Linked DNA regions of Homo sapiens: region 2 is linked to region 1. The links are contacts of gene promoters, found by promoter capture Hi-C in blood cells and fetal thymus (Javierre and others, 2016). All regions are on one chromosome and are shown on one strand. Each heading gives the region's core, a stretch centred on a gene start or on the middle of the fragment in contact. The rest is flanking DNA. Distances are from core to core; before and after follow the strand shown. Region 1 holds the start of NUP88 (nucleoporin 88). Region 2 overlaps KIAA0753.

Region 1 (4,629 bases), core at 828-3,327:
TGCCAGCACTTTGGGAGGCCAAGACGGGTGGATCACCTGAGGCCAGGAGTTCCAGATCAGCCTGGTTAACATGGTGAAACCCCGTCTCCACTAAAAATACAAAAAGTAGCCGGGTACGGTGGAGTGGGCCTGTAATCCCAACTACTCAAGAGGCTGAGGCAGGAGAATCGCTTGAATCCATGAGGTGGAGGTTGCAGTTAGCTGAGATTGCACCACTGCACTCCAGCCTGGGCAACAGAGCGAGATCCTGCCTCAAAACAAAACAAAACAAAAACAGCCGGGCGCAGTGGCTCACGCCTGTAATCCCAACACTTTGGGAGGCCAAAGCCAGCAGATCACGAGGTCAGGAGTTCAAGACCAGCCTGGCCAACATGGCGAAACCCCGTCTCTACTAAAAACACAAAAATTAGTCGGGCGTGGTGGCAGATACCTGTAATCCCAGCTACTCGCGGGGGGGGCTGAGGCAGAAGAATCGCTTGAAACTGGAAGGTGGAGGTTGCGGTGAGCCGAGATGGCGCCATTGCACTCCAGCCTGGGCAACAAGAGCGAAACTCCATCTCAAAAAAAAAAAAAAGACACAAAATAATTATAAATAATTAAGTTATGATTATGTCAAATGCTACACAGCAGTATAGAATGTTATTAGAATACTGCGTGCTGCACATTTGGTAATTATTATTATTTTTTGAGACACAGTCTTGCTCTGTTGCCCAGGCTGTAGTGCAGGGGCGTGATCTCAGCTCACTGCAACCTCCTCCTCCCAGGTTCAAGCGATTCTCCTGCCTCAGGCACCTGAGTAGCTGGGATTACAAGGGCGCGCCACTACACCTGGCTAATTTTTGTATTTTTAGTAGAGACGGGGTTTCACCATGTTGGCCAGGCTGGTCTCGAATTCCTGACTTCAGGTGATCCACCTGCCTCTGCCTCCCAGTGTTGGGACTGCAGGCGTGAGCCACCGCGCCCGGCCTTCATAATTCTTTTTAACTGAAATTGGGTAAATAAGTAGACTGTAGACTCCTGCCCTATTTTCAAAACTGCAGAAGCATTGCTAGCGTCTTATTAAAATTAAATCACTTCTCGGTAACAAGAATTGGACCGGGCACACAACAGATGTCATACCTTAGAATGAGTACCAAGCTCTTTTTCATCTTTAAGAGAATCTGTGTATTACAAATAAACATTTCCATAAACCAATATTTGACCACGGCAAGTGTGTAATACTTTCTGGATCACACCCATTTTCACATGCTGTCGGCTAATCAAAAACAAAAATCCCCATTTTGGGTATGGCTTTATTTTCTAAAGCGGGCGTTACGGGGGTAAGAATTAACAGAGACTTCCTCCTCCATGTCAAGCATGAAGCGTGGTGCTTTGAAACCTGCAACCTGACTTGCTGTGCACAACGCAAGAGAAAGTTACGATCTAACCTATTATAAGCGTCACATCAGGAAACAGGTTTCTCTCGACGAAACTAAAAATAGCAACTCCGCCCACTCGTTCTCAACCCCTTTAGCCCGCTTTGTTTTTCTCCAGAGCACTCATCCGTCACTAGTATTTTTATTGAATATTCAATGACCCTTTCCTTCCTCCCAGGCCTCCAGGCCGTAAGCATCGAGAGAGCCTGAGTCCCCGCGACCGCGTATGGCAGCGTCGGAGTCAATCCGCTGGAACGCCTGCCACAAGATGAAAAACAGCCAAGAGGAGCAAGGAACAAAAAAGACTGGTTCCGATCCCGGTGAGGGTCACTTCCAAGATCGGCCTGGCATTACCTGGTACTGGGACAGGGCGGGCTCTTCGCCGCCGCCGCTGGGGCCCCGAAGGCGAACGACTAAGAAGGAGCTGTCTTCTCCGTCCCACAGGAAAAGCTCTCCGCCGAGGCCAAAGACCACGTTTCTCGTCAGCAACTGCGGCGGCGGCGACGAAGGCAACGACGAAGAAGCTGGTTTCTCAGCTTCGGTTGGACTCTGGTTTTTCAGTCCCTCCCGGAGCCGCAAGAACACGACGTGGTTAGGAAGCCAGGTCTGCCACAGCTCGCCGTCGCCCACCGGTCCCTCGGCGGCCGCCATCTTGGCCCAACTGCTCCCCTCACTCCAGTTGCTCAGCCCGCCGCTGAGCACAGCCAATCCGCGGCCGTCCACTCACTGTTTCGGCCAATCACCGAGCAGACGGCCCGGAAGCTCGAGAGGCTCGTGCCAGGTCGGGGGGCGAAGGCGAGGCCAGCCCACCAAGCAGGGGCGTCACCAAGGGAAAGCCAATCACCATTATTTCTGAAGCCCAAGGGGGCGGGACGAGAAGTCAACATAATGGTGGTGCTGCTGGAAATCTAGCACCTGGGGAGAGCCTGAGACTTGTGTATCTAATTGCCTATTGGACACCTCCATCTGGGTAAACCCAGGCATCCAGAACTTTCCCTCAAGACTTACCTCCCTCAGTGCAGGTCGGGCTGGCCTCACGCATTTCGCTTGGATGCCTAAATCTGTCTCCACGTGGGGCCGGTCGATAAAACAACACTTCCCAGAATACGCTGCGATCCATTCGCGGTCTGCACCCGGAAAGTACACCTCCCAGGGGTCTGTGCGCGCCTCCAGGGAACGGGTCTTGTGGCTTTGTCTCCCGCGAAGAGGAGATGGCGGAGTCGTTGAGGTCTCCGCGCCGCTCCCTGTACAAACTGGTGGGCTCGCCGCCTTGGAAAGAGGCTTTCCGGCAGGTGGGTATGGGGTTTGTGCAGTGGTCTACCCTAGATCGTCCCGGTGACCGCCGTCTTCCCTGCCTTCGCCTTAGCCCTGCTCCGTGGAGCAGGTGCCGCAGCGCGCCTGGTCTGGTCAAACCCAGGCCTGCTGACTGTAGAGTGTGGGATTAGCCCGGGTCGGTCAAGTCCTAGAAAGCCTTGTTTTTGGATTCGATTTTGTTTTGAATTTAAATTGTGGTCAGGACATCACCGTTTGCACCTCTGCAATAACACTACCTACTGTTGCTGCGGAGGTGGCCACCGAGAGAGGCACTTTGTCTACGTTCGTCTTGTGAGATAGAGATGATTTCTATTCTAGAGAGTAGTAAAATGAGGCTTAGAAGAGGGCTCCACCTCAGTTCTGGCCTCTTCTGAACACAGTGTGGTTATTAGTAAGTAATGTCCAAGAAAGTAACCCGACGCAAGAAAGATAGCAGATACAGCAGAGTTTCTCAGCCTTGACAATGGACATTTTGAGGGAGATATTTATATGTTGTGGAGGGTTGTTTAAGCCACGTCTCGGGCCTCCACCCACTAGATGCTAATAGTCCTATAACTAGAATTGTGACAACCAGAAATGTCTCCAAGCATTGCCAAATGTTCCTTGGGGGACAAAACCTCCCTGAGTTCAGAAACGCTGCTGTGCAGGAAGGCCGTTACCCAGCCATATCTAGAGTAGCAAGAATTTGGAAGGAATATAAATGTTCTGTAATAGGACATTGGATGCTGAGATATTATGCACACAACCATTAAGGAAACTGGCAAGCTAGAATAAAAAATATGGTTCTTTGTAAATACGTGTACAAAGCATTGTAATTTTATGTATCTCTACAGAGGAATATGCAAAAGTAACACTAGTTAGTATTATCATTGAAATTTTGTGTCTATAAACTTTCTTTAATGTTTTCTCAACTAATGTAAGAGTGTTTTTTAAAAATAGAAATGCTTTTTTTTTCCCCCCCAATCTTGCTCTTTTTTCCCAGAGATGCCTGGAGAGAATGAGAAACAGCCGGGACAGGCTCCTAAACAGGTACCGCCAGGCTGGAAGCAGTGGGCCAGGGAATTCTCAGAACAGCTTTCTAGTTCAAGAGGTGATGGAAGAAGAGTGGAATGCTTTGCAGTCAGTGGAGAATTGTCCAGAAGACTTGGCTCAGGTCAGGCTGGGCTATGTGTTTTCAGGGAGGGGGACTGCACCACCAAGAACGGCTCGTGTCCTCTTTTATTTGTTTACTTGAGTCCTCTAAACCCACCATTCCCCTAACCCCATTTAGAATTCAACAGCCTTTAACCCAGGCTTTTCTACACTTAATGTTAGACTTGTCTAGATGAAATGGTCTGAAATACCAGACCGTAGACCTGCTCATCACTGCAACATCATCATTTATGAAACTAAAAAGAAAGAAATTTCATTTCTTGCCTCCACCCTTGGAAATTATGATTCAGTAGGCATAGGCTAGGAATCTCTTTCTCTCCCTCTCTCTCGCTCTTTTTTTTTTTCTGTCTTGCTCTGTCGCCCAGGCTGGAGTGCAGTGGCAAGATCTCGGCTCACTGCAACCTCCACCTCCTGGGTTCAAACGATTCTCCTGTCTCAGCCTCCCAAGTAGCTGGGATTACAGATGTGTGCCACCATGCCCGGCTAATTTTGTTTCTGTTTTAGCAGGGATGGGGTTTCACCATGTTGGCCAGGCTGGTCTTGAACGCCTGACCTCTAGTGATCTGCCCACGTCAGGAATCTCTTTCTAAAAAGGTCTCCAGAAACTTTCCGATTCTAATCTCAGCCAACGTTGGCAGCCATGTGTGGAAGGGAAAACCATTTATAGTGTATCAGGAAGAACACTGGATTCGAAGTCAGGAGTTCCAGAATTCAAATCCTGGTTTGGCTATTGACTGTTAACTTCAGT
Region 2 (4,680 bases), core at 498-2,997, 1.2 Mb after region 1:
AATCTGTTATTCTTGCTATTTTTTCAAAAACTTTTTATTGGCCTGTTTTTATGTTTAGCAAGATTAGTTTTACAATGTAAAGAAGGTATTAATAAATGCCTATTGATCAGCCACTAAATATGTCCTGAAAGACACTTAACATGGTCTTTAGTCTTTGCTGTTTAATAGAGAATAATCAAATGTTGAATTCAAAAGAGAAATCCTGGCCAGGAGTGGTGGCTCACCCCTATAATCCCAGCACTTTGGGAGGCTGAGATGGGCGGATCACCTGAGGTCAGAATTTCAAGGCCAGCCCGGCCAACATGGCAAAACCCTGTCTCTACTAAAAATACAAAAATTAGCCAGGCGTGGTGGTGTGCACCTGTAATCCCAGCTACTCGGGAGGCTGAGGCAGGAGAACTGCTTGAACCCAGGAGGCGGAGGTTGCAGTGAGCTGAGATCGCACCACTACACTCCAGCCTGGGTGACAAAATGAGACTGTCTTAAAAAAGAGAAGAATTAAAAAAAAGAGAGAGAGACATTAAGATAGCATCTTATTGTAAACATTTTTTTCTTTTTCTTTCTGAGGCAGAGTCTCACACTGTCACCAGTCTCACACAGCAACCTCCACCTCCCGGGTCAAGTGATTCTCCTGCCTCAGCCTCCTGAGTAGCTGGGATTACAGGTCCACACCACCACACTCAACTAATTTTTGTATCTTTAGTAGAGACAAGGTTTTGGCCTGTTGGCCAGGCTGGTCTCAAACTCCTGGCCTCAAGTGATGCACCTGCCTCAGCCTCCAAAAGTGCTAGGATTACAGGTGTGAGCCACCATGCCCAGCCTTAATCTTGATTTCAAAAGACAAGTCTTTTCTCTAACATATTAAGATAGCAAGTCTCAAAATTATTTGAGTGTCTAGAGTCTTCATGTATTTCTCAGGAAGCATACCCTTGTACACACTGGTACTCTATATCTTGAAAAGATTGGTTCAAAGAAATTGTTTCTGGAAAACTGTTTGAAGAAGATGCAATCTATCTATTCCTTCCAGGCTGTGGTTTTCAAATACACTTATACAAACAAATTCTTATACGAAACTCCAATATACTCCAATTATCAAAGAAAAGGGAGTCTTCAATTAGTAAAAGTGTATTTTATAAGTTCAAATTTTTAATATTTACTCTTTAAAACATCAAACAATGCAAAGAGTATAAGGCTGTTTTGAAGAAAGCAAAAATCTGAAGTCAGGAGTTGTAGATACAGATGCAGTCTCAAGAGACCCTATATGTCTAATTACTTTCATCTCGTTTGGGCTGCATGGTAGGGGAAAATCCGGATTCACATACTTCTATGAACATAAATGGAACGGGCTTAGGTGGGGGGTTTGAAGGCTCACTGCAGATGATTCCCATGCAGCGCCTGCAGCTGTCTACAGAGCAGCACTGGGAAGCACAAATGGGCCTTCGGGGCTACTTCAAAGGGGGTCTGCAGCCAGGGGCCATCGCAAAATATTATTAATCCATGAAAGGTAAGTACAGAAATTTAAAGTATATGTTTACGTGTTTCCATAGCAGTTTGCCGCTACTGTGACATTTTTATTATAGTTCACAAAGTATTGACTTATGACACATTGAAAATTCATGTAAATAAAATAAACCAACCCAGTCCTTCCCCACAGAGACTTTGAAAGCTCTGTTCTAACAGTTCCCCGGTATTAGGCCAGATCACCAGAGCAGTGGGCCTTGTGGCTTTGTTCCCCTGGTCGCAGGGCTTCCAATCAAAGTAGGTAGGGGTCCATGCCACAGGCTGACACTAAGGAATATCAAGAGAAACAAGCCACAACATTTCTGTTATTTTTATGCTGGAATGGTTTTGAATTGTTCATGATATTATACAACACACTCTTTAAGAAGACCTACAGGAGAAATTTCTTTCTGGCCTTAATATGTGGAATAATTGTTTTCCTTACACAATTGTTTTTTTCTGTCTTAGACTTTGTAAATTCTCCAAGTGATTTGACGTTCCCTCTTTAGCTGGCTCCTAGGAAGCTCAGAAGCAAATCTGTGACTCATCCCTAGTAAATGTTTTTCCTTTCCTTATTGTTTCCTTTGCCACAATATCCTCATGTGCATTTTTGTTTTATCTTATTCAATCACAGGTATTTCTTAAGGTACCTTAAATTCTTTCATAAGATGCATATAGGTACATATGCATATATTAATTAAATTGAAAATGCAAAAAATAATTCTAGACTATGTACTACCCTAGTGCAACGGTTTCTTTTGATGCTCAACTCCATACCCCTTGCAATCTGAAAGCTGGGCTTGGTTCCCTACTTGTTAGTTACGGTAACCCCAAATTCTCCACGTGGAACCAGTCTTCTACTCAGCAGGGAAATACAAGGGCCCTGAGAACACTGCAGAACTGTAGAAAACCATATATGATGATTAAATTCCTTCCTTCCTACCCTGTGCTCACTTTACACATATACCCACAACTTCCCTTGTCACTGGTGTGTACTCACCTAAATACTGCCCAAGTGAGAACTGGTTTTACCTATAATATAAATACATTATGCTCTCTTTTCAAGCAAATTGAAAAATAATTTTCCCAGAAGAGGGAAAACATTATAGGATAATTTGCACTCAGGTCCCAGAAGACCTAAGGTTCAGCCAACATTAATGCCACCTCGTAGGCTGGGCCCTCAGTCAGTGGACATTTGAAGGGCAGCCACAGTGAAGAAGTTCTTTCATGTCCCTCCGCTGGAAAGAGGAGCTGGGGCAAGACACTGTTCAAACTCCAAGCCTAACTGTCTTGTCCTGAGTACTCACACTCCAGTGAACCAACTCACAGAAGGAAAGAATGAAATTGCTATAGGGGTTGAGGGTCCTCAAGGAATGCATTTAAACTACCCCATAATCACAGCCTTAGGTCGAAGTAAAGAATCTAATTTTTCTCACCTTTTTTAGTTACCTCTTCAATTTTGTGGATACAACTGCTCAGTTCTTTCTGGAGTCGCTGGACTTCTAGCAGGCTTTTCTGTTCACTTATGTTTTTGTGGTCACCTATCCTGGGATGAGGCTGAAGTCCCGGATCATGGGTGGGTGGCGAATTTGGCACAGTAAGATCTGACTGGCCTGGATGAGATGAGTAAAGGTATACTTTGGCACCAGAGCTGGAGATTTCTACTTTGGATGGCTGGTGGCTACACTGACAGGCTGCTTGACTCTTTGATTCCTTCCTTTCCACCCTGTGGTCGGGTATTTTATACTTAGTATGTCCACACTTCTGAGAGCTTTGAGGCTGACTTCTGAGATGATGTTCTTTTATATGTTTTTCAAATTGTCTTCGTTTCACATCTCTTCTGGCTAGGTGGACAGCATAGCTAAGTCTCTCTTGGGATATGACGGAAAATGAAACAGAACTGCCCAGGTCAGGACCAACTCTACAATCTGCATCTTTACAATGGTATGATTCATTGTATGAGTGCTTCAGTTTTTCAATTCTAATGGCATGTGGGCAAGAATATCGGATCGCCAAGTTGCTTGAATGTGTAGGAACATTCCTATTAAACTGCAGCTGGTTCTTTAAAAAGCAAATAAAAGTAAGCAGACATCAGAAAAATTTCATATTGCACAGTTGGTATATGTCTATAATCAAATTTCTAAAATTTTGCCACCAGATCATTAGTGCTAAGAGGCATTTTTCTGTTTTACTGATAGACACAGCCACGCTCCTACACCCTTGGGTTCATCACATACCCCTGGTTCTATCCTATAATCATCCAGTCCCATACTATTATCCTTCTGTTTACTAATGTCATACTGGGAACCATCTCTAAAAGTAAACCCAGAAAGCTTCAAGCAGCAACCACTAAGTCCTTCAATTTCCCAGTTATGGACTTCTGTCCTATTTCAAAATGTCAGGCCCCAGCAAGTGACCAATATAACCCATTGAAGCTTTCTTAAAATTTGCTCCACGGATAGATCCAAGCCATCTGATAGTACTTCTTCAGGTCTTCCTGAGACTTCATTTGGTGGCTGGATCCATCTTTTACCCTGCCCCTAAGTGTATCTCACTTGAAACAGTCCGCTTATGCTTTCTTACACAGGCTCAAGTTTTTGTCAGTTTTCCTCATAATAAATACAAGTTTTGTTTCGTTTTGCACTTAAACATAAACATGTTTCTATATCCCTACAGCTTTTATTTATCATTGTTGCATTTTCCAAAATCCAATGAATGGTCTTTTCATGCCTAACTATAATGTTAATATTAAACATTTAGATTGTTCCAGTTTTTCCACTAATAGAAATATTACCTCAATTAATGTCTCCATGCATTTAGTTTTTTAACCTTTTAAAATTATTTCCTTAGGATAAATGATCTGTTCTGGGATTATCAGGTTAAAGGAAAGAAACGATTTTATGGCTTTAAATATGTACCCTCCTTAGGCCTACCAGAATGAACCTGTCAAAGACCGGTCAATAGCCTGAGGAGAATCCATGCCTACAAATTCAATGAACCCAGTCCTGTGATGCCGTGACCTTGGAGATGGCCTCCCCTGCTCTCACAATCAATGTGTTTATATAATTACAGGCATCAAGAGTCACTTAAAAATAATCAATTGTGACAAAACTTCAGGGAAGTATTTCGGATTTTTAAAAAGTAGTTAGAAAGCTCACTAAAGAAAAAACAAATAGGTAC

What was found. Contacts are between HindIII fragments. The CHiCAGO score rates a contact against its expected background, and 5 or more counts as called.
Region 2: a contact is called between a fragment that was not itself captured here and the fragment with the promoter of NUP88 in region 1, in 2 of 17 cell types (M0 macrophages and M2 macrophages). The highest score is 8.2, in M0 macrophages.

What each region holds. Positions count from the first base shown.
Region 1 is chr17:5,417,585-5,422,213 of GRCh38, forward strand. NUP88 (nucleoporin 88) reads right to left here and starts at 2,078. Exons shown (of 17, transcript NM_002532.6): 1 at 1,770-2,078. The coding sequence starts at 2,066. RPAIN (RPA interacting protein) reads left to right here and starts at 2,598. Exons shown (of 7, transcript NM_001033002.4): 1 at 2,598-2,707; 2 at 3,712-3,882. The coding sequence starts at 2,627. RefSeq lists enhancers at 1,440-2,079, 1,715-2,252, 2,253-2,790, 2,520-2,639, 2,650-2,869. The HindIII fragment of the contact is 9,370 bases long and covers 1-4,629 here.
Region 2 is chr17:6,625,181-6,629,860 of GRCh38, forward strand. KIAA0753 reads right to left here. Exons shown (of 19, transcript NM_014804.3): 3 at 2,937-3,561. Among named protein-coding and RNA genes, the nearest start is that of KIAA0753, 13 kb to the right of the region's middle. The HindIII fragment of the contact is 4,167 bases long and covers 1-3,831 here.